Regions from separate parts of the Homo sapiens genome. Here all the other regions are linked to region 1. The links are contacts of gene promoters, found by promoter capture Hi-C in blood cells and fetal thymus (Javierre and others, 2016). All regions are on one chromosome and are shown on one strand. The core of a region is centred on a gene start or on the middle of the fragment in contact, and the rest is flanking DNA. Distances in the headings are between cores, read along the strand shown.

Region 1 (2,700 bases), core at 98-2,597:
ATAATGGAAGGGAACAAAAGCGGTAAGGAGTAGGGACAAGACACCCAAAGAGGGTGGAGAGGGGCCTCTGAAACCTTGGGCCCAGCTGGGCCTGGAGGGTGGGGCGAGCTCACCAAGCTCAGGGCATCAGGTGTGGCTTTGTGGTAGGGCTGGTGGTCACATACCTTCCCCCAGCATCTCCATGGGGAGTGTGGGCCCGTGTGAATGCAGGAGGCGAGCTCTGCACCAGGGGAGCTCAGGACACAGCCAGGTTGCTCAGGCTCTAGGCCTGGCTTTTCCTGTTTCTTGCAGGTGAGGTTGCCTGACCTCTGTACCTGTTAACTTGTCTTTTAAAAATGGGATAGTGGTGTCTACCTCACACAATGATGGTAATTATGAAGTTCAGACATGTAGTGCTAAAATGGTACCTGGCTTGCAAGAGTGCTGTGTGAATGTGGCCCATGGCAACAATCTGTTTGCAAGCGTCACAAAGATAGCTTGTCTCAGCAAAGGAATAAGGGCTTAGGTGTTTCTCTTTAACTTTTTAAAAATTGAGCTAAAAGCCACCATTTAACCATTTTAAAGTGTACAGTTCAGTGGTTTAGTACATTTACAGTGTGCAGCCATCATCACTAATTCCAGAAGTTTCCATTTCTTTTTTCCACTCCAAAAAGAATCTCTCCACCTGTTAGCAGTCACTTCAATTACTCACCCCATCCCCTAGCAACCATTCATCTACTTTCCGTGTCTGTGGGTTCGTCTATGCTGAACATTTCACATAAATGGAATCATACAGCACGTGGCCTTTTGTGTCTAGCTTCTTGCTTAGCATACTGTTTTGAAGGTTTATCCATATTGTAGCATGTACTTCATTCCTTCTTATGGCCATCCTATGGATATACCTCATTTTGCTTATCAGTTGATGCACATTTCAAGGGTTTATTATTATTCTCTGGTCCTCAGGTTCTGTAACTCCAAACCATGGCACCCTGCCATAAGCGGGGCAGAACATACCCAACACCTCTATCTGGCCACAGCTCACTTTGGTTCTTCCTAACCCTCTGGAGGAGGCAGGGCCTATTTTTCCTATGAGAAAACTGAGGCCTAGAGATATGGAGACCTGCGGAAGATCCCACATTTCACGGGAAAACCGGAGACTTTCTACACTGGATTCAGGGACTACTGGGCCGAACAAAGAAATCCCGCCTTTCACCAAGCCCAGAACTGGGCGGGGCGTGGATTTGCTCGCTGCCCCTCCCAGAATTGGACGAAAACGAGGTGGGGCCAGCAGGCGCTCGGCAGGGCGGGCTCGCTCTTAACACGTGACAGCGCTCAGCCAATTGGCGCGGGGCGTCCGTAGCCACGGCAACAGGTTGCTTCTGCAGTCTGAGCTGAGCGCCTTTCGCACGACTTGGAGTTACGGTTTATCTGATACCCCGGTACCCCTACGCAAGCAAGCCCACATCGACACACATTCACACACGCCCTTCAGCACCCCCTCCCAGCACCACGACCATGGACGACGACTATGAAGCGTACCACAGTCTGTTCTTGTCGCTGCTCGGTAAGCCCCGGGAAGAAGCGTCTGCAGGGAGCGCTCAGCGCCCTAAGGACGCGTGAAAGTGGGGTGAGGGCAAAAACTCAGCCACAGATATTGTGCCGACCCCCTCTGGGTGAAGGGTTGCCATGGAGTCGGGGGCAGGTCATGTACATTTCTGAGATTTCTATCTGAGCCTAGTTGGAGGAACCAGAGGCCCGACCCATGTGACGGGAGCCCTCCAGCTCGCCCTGTTTCTCTGCAGGACATTAATGTATTCAGTACTGGAGGAGAGGCATGGAGAAGACGTCAGTCTTCAAGGTTTTGGCAGTAATGTGCTGGGGACCAAGTTCTTGGCAAAGCAATGCAGCTTCACGGGTAAAGGACAGAGATAAATGGATAATTACAGAATAAGAAGGGGTAAATGCCGGGCCCAGGGATGACACCCAGGAGTAAAAGGTGTGCTGAGGGTATGGGATGGGGAGGAACAGTTCCAAGCTTTTGGAAAAGATCTTTACACTGGAGCTTAAAGGATAAAAAGGAGTTCTCCAAGCCAAAAGGGGAAGGAAAAGCATTTCGGGCAAGGAAACAGCATGACCCAAGAGGTCTGGTGTCTCTGGAAATGAGGTGAGAGAGGTCAGAAGGGACAAGATCATAAAAGATACTGCAAGCCAGGAGATGGAGAGGCCACTGGGAGTGGCAGGACTGGATTGGGAGCAGTCAGAAAAGACCTGAGACTGAGTTGGCAGACTCAGAATGTTGGTGTGGGGAGATGAGAGCTGGGGGCTATAAAGCTTGAAGACTGAAGGTCTTCTCCATGCCGCTTCTCCAGCACTGAACACATTAATGCCCAGTGGAGAAACAGGGAGAGCTGGAGAGGCTGGCCACCTTTCCCAGGCACACAGGTCAGGGCTCTGGTCAAATGCCCAAGCTAAAGATGCTGGGAGGTGAGGGAGAAGGCCCAGGCTAGAGGGAACTACGGGACTTGGGGGCTGGTTGGTCAGGAAACACAGAAGAGGCAAATAAAGATGGTTCTCAAGTTGGCAGCTGGGGGACCTGGTAGATGGAGATGTCTTCCACAGAGATAAGAGAACGTACTCAGAGGACCCAGTTAGTGGGGGAAGGGGCACAAAGACAAATCCAGTCTTGGTTGGTTGAGTTTAAGATCCTTGTCAGTAGCTGGG
Region 2 (2,700 bases), core at 84-2,583, 520 kb before region 1:
CCCTTCTTACCAGCTGGTATTTTCTCCTCTACCTACTTGTTCAGTGGTTCTTGTCTGTCTCTCTTGCCAAGCTCCAAGACAAGGTTGCCATGCTTCTAGGTGTAACCTCGGCACATAGTATGTTCTCAAATATTTGCCGACTGCTTCTGTTGTAATCTTTCTGTCTCTGGAAAAGGCAACTCTAACCTAACAGTTGCTCAGGCAAAAAAACTTTTGGATCATTCTTGATTCCTCTCTTTTTATCATGCCCCACCCCCAACCATCAGCAAATTGTATTGGCTCATCCTGCAAAATACATTTGGAGTTCCACCCACCCGTGCACCTCCAGAGCAGCCACCCTGGTCCAGCCGCCTTCACCGCTCACCCAGACAACTGCAGCAGCCTCCACTCCAGCCGCCCTGCTTGTGCCCTGGCCCCTGTGATCTACTTTCTACACAGCTGCCAGGCAGTTTTCTCAAAACCGAAGTCAGATCACGTCCCTTCACTTCTCAGAACCATCCTAGGGCTCCCTGTTTTGGGGAGAGTAAAAGCCAAAGTCCCTACAGTGGCCCGCAAGGCCCTGCACCACCACCTGCCTCCTGTACTCCTCTGTCCTCCCTCCCGCCACTCTCCCCTTAGCTCAGTGTCAGAGGACTTTTGTTGATACCTGAAAACACCATGCCCATTCCTGCCTCAGGGCCTTCGTACTTGCTGTTCCTTCCACCTGGACTGCTGGGCCCAGATCTTTGCTTGGCTCACTACCCACCTCTTTTGGACCCCTGCTTAAATGTTCCTCCTCCTGGCCATCCTGCACAGGACATCACATATGCATGCATGCACACACACGACACACATGGGTATATGGGCACGCACACATACACACACCTGTGCACATACCGACCAACCTTCTCTTAGTTGTTACCTAACACATTGTGTATTTAATGGTCTCTGTTTTTATCCGTCTCTCCCGCCAGAATGTAAATTCAGGAAGGCAAGGACTTTATCTTTTTTGCTCATTGCAGTGCTCTCGGCTTCCAGCACTGTTCCTGGTACCTGGTAGCTGCCATGAATTACTTTTTAAGTGAGTTCAGGCTGCAGCCATCGAGGCAAGGCACACTGGAAGACACACACATTCACACACACATTCACACACACATTCACCCAGACATACTCACACACATACACACACACACACACTCACACACATTCACATTTAAAAGCTAAACCAACTGGCCGGACATGGTGGTTTATGCCTGTAATCCCAGCACTTTGGGAGGCCAAGGTAGGCAGATCTCTTGAGCCCAGGAGTTTGAGACCAGCCTGGCCAACACGGTAAAACCCCATCTCTACTAAAAATCCAAAAATTAGCTGGGCATGGTGATGTGCGCCTGTGGTCCCAGCTATTCAGGAGGCTAAGGCGGGAGGATCCCTTGAGCCTGGAAGGCGGAGATTGCAGTGAGCTGCGATCGCACCGCTACACTCCAGCCTGGGCGACAGAGTGAGACTCTGTCTCAAAATTAATTAATTAAAAATTAAAAACAAATAAATAAAAGCTAAACAAACAAATGAACAGACAGACAGCTAGAATAAACTCCATGCCCCACTCCGCCCTGCTCCACAGTTACTGACTCATCATTCCTCGGGTGAAAACCTGGTTGGGACCGCTCTTCTTTTTGTCTGCCCAGCACTCACTGTCCCATCTTCTGAGACCACCCTGCCTTTCCTTTGGAGACCACCCCCAACCCCAATATCAGTCCAGGGGCATTGAGTGGACAGATCTATCTGCATACCAGAGGTGGCCTGTGACTGAGACCATATCCATGAGAGTTGCAGCAACTAGCTTCTGGATAGGCATATGACACAGTCTAGGCCAATCAGTGATCCCCAGGATGTCTGTGGAGTCACTGTGAATGAGGTCGTCTCTTGCTGGTGGTGGCTAAGTTGTTTTAGGGAGTCTGCCTGGAGCTGTGGGCAGCCACATTGCCACTGGGAGAAGGAAGGTGGCCTGGAACAGAATCACTACAGAGAGAGGCAGAGCTGAGAGATAAAGAGAGGCAGATGCATGATGACATCATTTGATGGACTTTTTAGTTACATGAGGGAATAACTTTTCATTTTTTCTTTTTTTTCTTTATTGTTTTAACTGTTAGGGCCTCACTCTGCTGCCCAGTCTGGAGTGCAGTGGTGTGATCACAGCTCACTGCAGCCTTGAACTCCCAGGCTCAAGCAATCCCCCGCTCTCAGCCTCCCGAGTAGCTGGAATTACAGGTGCATGCCACCACACCCAGTTAATTTTTTTTTAAAAGTGTTGTACAGATAAGGTGTCACCTTATTGCCCAGGCTGACCTCAAACTCCTGAGCTCAAGTGATCCTCTTGCTTCGGCCTCTCAAAATGTAAGGTTTACAGGCACGGGCCACTGCACCGGGCCCTCTTTTTTTCTTAACTCAATTTGAGGTGGGTTTCTGTTACTTGATCATGACTAAAACAATGTCTTGAGACGTGTTTCAGAATTTCAGACACTGTCACCCTGCCTCAGGCAAGGACACACTTCCCATGAAGCTCATTCCTTCTGCAAACCTTTGCTCAAGCCATGCCTCCCTCCCAGAGGGCCCTCCCGTTTCTATCCAAATCTTGCCAGTCTTTAAGGCCTGTCCTTTTCTTGAAGCCTGCCCTGATTGCACCCACTAGGACCTTTCCCTCCTCTGGCCTCCCTCAGCTGT
Region 3 (2,700 bases), core at 124-2,623, 570 kb before region 1:
TTGGTGATGACCAGGATGCCTTCTTCATGGTTTGAGGGCAGACATGGCCTATGTTGGCAGATCCTTGCAAAAGAGGAACTTCAGGTATTTTTTTTGAGTAAAAACTGCTTCAAGCCATTTTTGGAATCAAATAGAGTGGCTACCAGAAATAGGCTGATTTCATAGTTAGGCATAGTGGTGCGTGCCTGTAGTCCCAGCTACTTGGGAGGCTGAGGCAGGAGAATGGCTTGAACCTGAGATTGGCTTGAGCCAAGATCGTGCCAGCCACTCCAGCCTGGGCAACAGAGCAAGAGAAGGAAAAGAAAGAAAGAAAAGAAGGAAGGAGAAAGAAAAAGAGAGAAAGAGAGAGAGAAAAAGAGAGAAAGAAGGAAGGAAAGTCAGAAAGAAAGAGAAAGAAGGAAGGAAGGAAAGTCAGAAAGAAAGAAAAAGAAAGGAAAGAGAAGGAAAGAAAGAAAGGAAGAAAAAGAAAGAAAGAAAGAAAAAGAAAAGAAAGAAAGGGAGAAAGGAGGGAGGGAAGGAAGGAAAGAAGAAGGAAGGAAGGAAGTTGATTTCATTTCAGCCAGGCGTGGTGGCTCACACCTGTAATCCCAGCACTTTGGGAGGCTGAGGCAAGCTATATCACTTGAGGTCAGGAGTTTGTGACCAGCCTGGCCAACAATGGTGAAACCCTGTCTTTACTAAAAATACAAAAATTAAGGCCAGGTGCAGTGGCTCATGCCTGTAATCCCAGCACTTTGGGAGGCCGAGGTGGGTGGATCACCTGAGGTCAGGAGTTCAAGACCAGCCTGACCAACATGGAGAAACCTCGTCTCTACTAAAAATACAAAATTAGCTGGGCATGGTGGCGCATGCCTGTAATCCCAGCTGCTCAAGAGGCTGAGGCAGGAGAATCATTAGAACCCAAAAGGTGGAGGTTGCAGTGAGCCAAGATCACGCCATCACACTCCAGCCTGGGCAACAAGAGCAAAACTCCGTCTCAAAAAAAAAAAAATTAGCCGGGCGTGGTGGGTGCACCTGTAATCCCAGCTACTCGGGAGGCTGAGGCAGGAGAATCGCTTGAACCCAGGAGGTGGAGGCTACGGTGAGCTGAGATCTCACCACTGCACTCCAGCCTGGGTGACAGAGTGAGACTCCACCTCTAAAAAGAAAAAGAAAAAGAAAAAATAGATTGATTTCAAAAAGATTAATCACTGAAAATAGCTGTTGTTGGAAATGGTGTGGAGCAATGAGTTCTCTGAAACCTCACTCACTATGGGTGGGTGTATAAATTGGGAGCGGCTTTCTATGGAGCAGTTGGCAGTATTTGTGAAAATGTTAACTACCCATGCCCATTGTCCTAGCAATTTTGCTTGTAGGTGTTCTATCCCACAGAAACTCGCATGTCTATACAAAGACAGGAGCAAGACTGCTTATGATGGCGTTGTTTATAATCAGGAAGTGCTGAAAATAACCTAAATATCCATCCATAGGGGTGTGCATAAGTGACTTTTGATGCACCCATGCGTCAACCATTATAGTGATTAAAAAGAACAAGGGAAATATCTAACGACTGACATGAGGACAGCTCTAAGATGTGCGGTGGTATCAGAAAAGTCTTGAGACAATAGTGTGCAAATATATGTGCATGTGGCTGTGTACAAATGTAGAGAAAATGATCTGGAAAGTTACAGCCCTGGTCCCTGTTGCCTGGCATGTTCCAGAAACAGCAAGGAGGCTAAGGAGGATGGTGTGAATGAGGGGAGAGTAGGAGGAGCTGGGTCAAAGAAGTCGCAATAGGCAGAGGACATTGTCCCTGCTGGGTGTGCAGGACCCTCCCCCTTGGCCACCACAGTGCAGCTAGATCCACCAGCTCATGCCCAGAGTTTCTGGTTCTTCCCTGTATTAATGATACCTTTCTATCTTCTATGTTTCTGATGCTTTGACATCTGGGGTCTTGGTAACCCTGGAGGGATTGCTCCTCCCAGGGATGGCCAAGAGATAGTAAAGGACTGGCCTGTAAGTGTGCATTTAACATGCAAACTAATCAATGCACAGCCCCCACCCGCACCACCCCCTTTATCTCTGGGCTCTTTCACTCCAGGCCACTATTCTCCTGCCCTAATCACTCCAGGGCCAGGTACCAAGCATCTAGGGTCAGCCGCTATGCCCCAAAGCCTGCTGAAATTATTCAATCTAGCCAATCCTAAGCCTGTTTACCCTGCCTCACCTGGAAACTAAAGTAAAGGATCTTGCCCCATTTGCCCCTCACACCCTCTGCCTCCTGATTGACCCTCATGCCTCTCCTTGTGGCTCTTCCTGGCATGGCATGCCCCCTCCTCTTGGGACCTGTGAGTAACAAACTCTTTTCTGTGGCAGTCGTCTCCTGAGCTGTTGGTCTCACTGTACTTGAGTAATAATAAGACTTACATCCGTATTTGAAACACACCCCACAGGGTGTGGGATGGAAAGACCTCAGAGCCCCCAAAATGACCAAATGATGCCAGAAGTACAAAAGAATTTATCGTTCATTGGCCACAGAACCAAGGTTGACTAATGAGACCCAGGAGACAGGAGGGATCCAGGTAGATAAACCCCCTCTCCTTCCATCTTTCTCTGGACTATCTGAGACTGGATTTCTCCTTGCAGTCCTCCTGGAGGTGTTCTGTGTAAGGTGGGTGTACCTCCAGAGCAGCCACGAGGGTGATTGTGGAGTGATGGCCT
Region 4 (2,700 bases), core at 111-2,610, 530 kb before region 1:
CATCTGGAGTGGACACTGTGGTGCTCTGGTCACCTGTGTTCACCTTTGACTTCCAGGAAGCAGAAGGACAGCTCTTTCCTTCTTTGCCTTTTCCTTCCTCGCATTACATGTAGCCTTGGTAGGATACCCGCCATGCTGTCCAACCTCTCAGGGCCAAGCAGTGGTCCTGTGGCTCCCACTGTTTCCTGGGACCTAGACTCTCCAGCAGAGAGATGGCAGATTTGCTGCAGGGACATTTGCAGCACAGCAGCAGCTGCACAGGAACAAGACGGTTGAGAAGTCCTTGCTGCCCAGCTGGACCCTGCAGGGGCCTCCTTTTGCTCTCAAGCCTGACCTTTTGGTCTTCCTGATGAGCAACAAATCCCCCTTTTCAGCTAAGCTCGCTGGAGTTGGGTTCTGTTGTCACCAATCCTGACTGATAAGGCCTCCTCCTCTGTACTGGGGCCTCAGGGGAGTCATGGACTCAAATCCTGGCTGTGATTTCAGGAAAGAGAGATTGAGACGGGGAAGAGGTTGGAAGAAGGATCTGAGGACGGGGAAGGGCAAGGGGATACAATTGGGTCAAATGAACATCAAGGACGATAAGAAAAAAAAGAGTCCCACTTAGAGGCCCAAAGATGAAAGAAATGCTCTCCACATGATCACAAATAATTCTCACAAGAAATGTGAAAGTCTTATTCCCATTTGTATAGGTAACTATTATTTTTGTCTGTTCAGCCTCCAGGCCCCTTCCTTCTTATAACAGGACCCCGGGTTTCCAAGGGGTCCTTACCTTCCCCTGCTCTCTAGCCTGTTGGTTTATGTGGAGTTAGCACCACCCTGGGATCCTTGTGCCCCAGGCCTAGCCAATCAGAGTGTGAATCTCCCATCTACAGGGACTGGTTCAAGGACAGATGTATGGCCAAGCCAGGCCAATGAAACTCAAACTTGAGATTTTTGCTGAAACGGTGTGGGAAGAGGTGTTCTTTCATGCTTGGGGTGTAGGGGTACAAGCCAAGCACTACTGGGCACTATTTCTGCTACCTCATGGAAAGATTCTGCTTACGAATGATGCCACCACAAAGTTAATTGAACCAGAAAGTGTAACTGGCTTTCCATGACACTGTTTGAACATATCACTGGACTCTTCAGTTACAGAAGCTGATACATTACTTTTTTGTTCTACTCAGTTTGAGCTACCCCTTCTGTCACTTGCAACCTAATGACTAACAGATGAAACTCAAAGATGTGAAGGGATCCCATGGCTGGGCCATGGCTTATTCCATGCCAGGGCAGGAAAAGGGAGCCACATTCCCTGGCCTTAGCCTCTGCCTCAAACTCTGAAGGCCTGTGCTTGAGTACCAGCTCTGCTACTGATTCACTGCAGGCCTTAGGTACATCACTTAACATCTCTAGGGCTCAGTTTTCTCTTCTGTAAAATGAGGATGATAATAATATTTACATACTGGTAATAATAACCTAAAATTTTCAGCAAACACTAATTGGTTACTACATTCTGGTCCTTATGCAAAGTGTTTTACATGTATTATTACATTAAATCTTCATAAAATTGAATGATGTGAGTATTGCAGTTAATCCCATTTTACAGATGAGAAAGCTGAGACCCAGAAGGTTGGGCAACTTGCCCGAGGTCATCAGGTGGAAGACCAAGTCTTTGACTCTAAATCACCATGTTATACACTCTCTCAGATGTTGAAAGTACAGCTGGCAGGGAAGGGGCAGGGTTCAGGGAGCTTTGTCCTGCCTGCTGGCTCACCAAGGCCCAGCTACTTTAAAAAATAATAATAATGGCCGGGAACGGTGGCTCAAGCCTGTAATCCCAGCACTTTGGGAGGCTGAGGCGGGCGGATCTTGAGGTCAGGAGTTTGAGACCAGCCTGGCCAATATGGTGAAACCCTGTCTCTACTAAAAATACAAAAATAGCCGGGCGTGGTGGCAGGCGCCTGTAATCCCAGCTACTCGGGAGGCTGAGGCAGAATTGCTTGAACCCGGGAGGCAGAGGTTGCATTGAGCCAGAGATTGTGCCATTGCACTCCAGCCTGAGTGACAGAGTGAGACTCCGACTCAAAAAATAATAATAATAATAATAATAAATAATAATAATAATAAACCTATTCTGCACCTTACAGAAGGAGCTCCAGTTCTCCCTGAGAAGTGTCCCCATTGGGGAAGTGACCCAAAGTCTCATGTGTCTCTGGGAGATAAATCAAGATCAAGGCTAGGGCCTTGGGACTCAGCCTAGCCCTGTGAACAATATCTCACCTGGACTTTCAAAAGATGGGTAATTTCTCTGGTCTCATTCATATGTGGTCATCAAGGGGAGGCCAAAACACTTTTAAGGATAATACGCTTTAGGTGACTGAGTGGAAGAGTGAGTAGGGAGTGAATAAATGCATGAGTAAATCTATGAATGAGTGAGTGAGTGAGACAGAAGTGAACTGGTTTCCTGCCCCAAGGAGCTCATAGGGAAGCTGCGAGACAAGAAAAACAAACAAACAGACAAACAAAAAACAGCAGAAACAATTAAAGAGCAATTATGTGTCAAGACACATAGCACTGATCATGTGCTATGGGGGAAGCAGTCTCCACGGACAGGAGATGCCCAGTCAAGCCTGAACTATGAGGTGAGGCTAATCAGGAGCCTGGAAGGTGATTAATATTGGAAAGGCCAGCGAAGAGCAGGTAGGGCACTCAGCCAGG
Region 5 (2,700 bases), core at 156-2,655, 810 kb after region 1:
GGACCTGGCCTCACGCACGCCCGGCCTTGGGAGCCCCTGCGGGAGGGTGCATACCCTGACCTGCCCGAGAGGCGTCTGCCGCAGCCCCTGCTTCCCCTAGGGAACCCCCGGGCGGCTGTGCCTCACGGAGGGGCCCTGCTTTACCGCGGCTGCATACCACCTCGGGCCATTTGGTCAGCTGCTTCACCAGCTCTCTTCATCCTCTTACTCTCCCTGAATCTTTTTCTTCGTTTTTTGGAGCAGTCAGAAAGCTTGGCCGAAATCAAGATAACTCGCTGGGCCCGCGTGCAGATTGGTGGGCGCCCTCTGCTGGGCCGGCGGGCCTCTCGCAGGCCTGAGGAGCGAGCTGCGCCTGCGCCCTGGTGTCCCTTCGTAACACTGCGGCACGTCACGAGGCGGGCACCGGGGAGTATGGGCGAAATCGCAGGCGCAGACGGCGGGCTCGGGCTAGAAAAGTCGCGCATGCGTGGGGCTAATTTAAAGGCGGCGCGGCTCCAACAGAACCAAAGCCAATTCTCCGGCTGTGGCGCCACCTACGGGTGTGGGCTCGTAAACGGCCTCCTCTGGCCGGACTAGGACTGGGTCTGGGGTCGGCGGGCTCAGGACCACTGGGCTGCTGAGGGGCTTAGCCATGGGGACCTGGGCTCTCAGCTGCCCTGGAAAGCCACAGGGCTAGCTGGGCTGGCCAAGGCCGGTGGCTCCCCCAGCATCCTGTGGTGGGTGCATCCCTGGGCCCAGTGGGGCATCCGGTGCTGCCCTCCCCACCTACGGGCTTACATCCTTTGGTTGCTGGGACAGAGCGCCCTACGCCACGCGCAGCCCTGCGCTTCCCTGATCCTCGGTTTCCCCAGTAGTAAACAGGGCCTCAGTTTCCCCCTTGTAAATCTCAGGGAGGAGGTGAAGTGGGGCCCTAGGTGTAAAGCCAGGTTCAGGCTGGGCATCCCTTGGCGCAAGGTGACATGCCCCAGACACCTGACACCTCTCAGTCTCAGACCCAGCGTACTTTCTCTGTGGCCCTCATGTGGCCGTATAGGAGTGGCCCACCCACTCCCACTCCCATTCAGATCCCCAGGCCACAGTGCCTTTTGTCCAGCCTTGGCCAAGATGCCTGACCCTAGTGGCCTGGCCCTGGCTGCTTCCATGGCTGCAGCTTTGGGATGTCCCTGTAGTCATAGGTGGCCTCATGGCAGTCCCCCAGCCTTGAACCTGGACCCTGGCTCAGGGAGGGGAAAACACGGCTGAAGAAGGGCTGGGTGTCACTTTCTCTCTTCCATTTGTCTTGGAGGCTGTCATGGGAGAAAACCCCAAAGGACCCAGTGCGCCCTCACAGTTTCACCACAAGTATCCTGACCGGGCGTCTGGTGCCGAGCTGATAGTGCAGGCCCCGGCCGCAGCCCCGCCGGAAGCCCATGCTGCCAGCGGTTGGGGGCCGCAGGCTCAGACAGGAAATGCCCCCGAGTGTACCCCAGGGCCCTCTGCAAAGGCCTGATGCTTTGGATGAGGCCTGGCGCCATTTTGAAGCTGGGCCTGACTCTGGGACTCTGGCCTGGTTCTGGGGCTGGTGGCCTGGGATCTGGGGACTGCTTTGTCACCTGCCTGGGCAGGTGTGGGAGATGACAGGGAGGGAAGAGAGAACCTTCAAACTGGGCTAGACCTGAAGCGAAAGCTGAATGATGCAGCCTGTCCCCTACCATGGCCAACCCCTTCATGGTGCCCCCAGCCCAGCCCTTTAGGGTCTCAGCTTCCATCAGGCCCTTAGTTCCATATGTGGTGTGACAGGCCCAGGACTAAATGCAGGGGACACAGAAGGGAGCAGACAGCAGAAGTGCTGGGCATCAGGAAAGGCAAGTCAGAAGGTAGGGCCATCAGGAGGGTCCATCGCAGCATCTGAAGGATTTGCTTGTGGGGGTTGGTGGGGAGGGAGGAGCCCAGACTCCTTTTTTGACTTCCACTCAGGGGATAGAATCCAGAAAGATTTAAGACGAGTGTCTCAGTCTGTTAAGGCTGCTATAACAAAATACCATAGACTGGGTAGCTATAAATAGAAATTTGCTTCTTACAGTTCTGGAGGCTGGGAAGTCCAAGATCAAGGCACCGGCAGATTTGGTGTTGAGAGGTCCTGCTGCTTGGTTCAAAGATAGCACCTTCTCGTGTCCTCACATGGTGGCAGAGATGAGGGAACTCTCGGATGTATCTTATAAGGGCACTAATGTCCATTCATGAAGGCTCTACCCTCATGGCCTAATCACCTCACAAAGGTGCCACCCTCTAATGCTTCACATTGGGGGTTAGGTTTCAACATAAGAATTCTGGGGGGATGCAGACATTCAGTCTGTAGCAGTGGGAAGGACAGGAGCCTGTTCAAATGCTGATGGGAAGGAAGGAGGTAACAGGGACATAAAGGCTGAAGATCCAGGAGAGAAGGGGCCAGTGAATAGATCCCAGTAGAGCAGGATTGGGTGGGATTGAGGGCTTAAGGCAGTGATCTCATGGGAGAGCCCTGAGAGACTGTGCCTTCATTAGCACTGAGGAGATCAGCAAAGACCTGTTCAAGCTTCGCCTCCTGGGCAGCCTTCCCTATTCTCCAGGTGGGCTGAGATGTCCCTACCTTACACTACTGGACACTGCTTTCTGAAGTGGAATGGACTGTTTGCCTCCCTACACTGGGTGCTCTATTTCAGCAGAGTTTAAACAGAGGCA

The links. The method cuts DNA at HindIII sites, captures the fragments that hold promoters and counts their contacts. A CHiCAGO score of 5 or more calls a contact.
Region 2: a contact is called between a fragment that was not itself captured here and the fragment with the promoter of EFCAB12 in region 1, in 1 of 17 cell types (neutrophils). The highest score is 5.2, in neutrophils.
Region 3: a contact is called between a fragment that was not itself captured here and the fragment with the promoter of EFCAB12 in region 1, in 2 of 17 cell types (M2 macrophages and M0 macrophages). The highest score is 6.1, in M2 macrophages.
Region 4: a fragment that was not itself captured here is called in contact with the fragment with the promoter of EFCAB12 in region 1 in 1 of 17 cell types (M0 macrophages); the score reaches 5.5 in M0 macrophages.
Region 5: a fragment that was not itself captured here is called in contact with the fragment with the promoter of EFCAB12 in region 1 in 2 of 17 cell types (naive CD4 T cells and activated CD4 T cells); the score reaches 6.0 in naive CD4 T cells.

Annotation. Positions count from the first base shown.
Region 1 is chr3:129,427,283-129,429,982 of GRCh38, reverse strand. It overlaps EFCAB12 (EF-hand calcium binding domain 12), which reads left to right and starts at 1,347. Exons shown (of 9, transcript NM_207307.3): 1 at 1,347-1,543. The coding sequence starts at 1,495. RefSeq lists a silencer at 1,161-1,210. The HindIII fragment of the contact is 3,479 bases long and covers 1-2,016 here.
Region 2 is chr3:129,942,580-129,945,279 of GRCh38, reverse strand. No RefSeq gene overlaps it. Among named protein-coding and RNA genes, the nearest start is that of TRH, 31 kb to the left of the region's middle. The HindIII fragment of the contact is 3,757 bases long and covers 1-2,700 here.
Region 3 is chr3:129,995,883-129,998,582 of GRCh38, reverse strand. It overlaps the pseudogene LOC124906284 and the pseudogene RPS17P9. Among named protein-coding and RNA genes, the nearest start is that of TRH, 23 kb to the right of the region's middle. The HindIII fragment of the contact is 3,275 bases long and covers 1-2,700 here.
Region 4 is chr3:129,961,702-129,964,401 of GRCh38, reverse strand. No RefSeq gene overlaps it. Among named protein-coding and RNA genes, the nearest start is that of TRH, 12 kb to the left of the region's middle. The HindIII fragment of the contact is 3,782 bases long and covers 1-2,700 here.
Region 5 is chr3:128,615,460-128,618,159 of GRCh38, reverse strand. No RefSeq gene overlaps it. Among named protein-coding and RNA genes, the nearest start is that of RPN1, 34 kb to the left of the region's middle. RefSeq lists enhancers at 1-30, 1-257, 51-340. The HindIII fragment of the contact is 2,303 bases long and covers 254-2,556 here.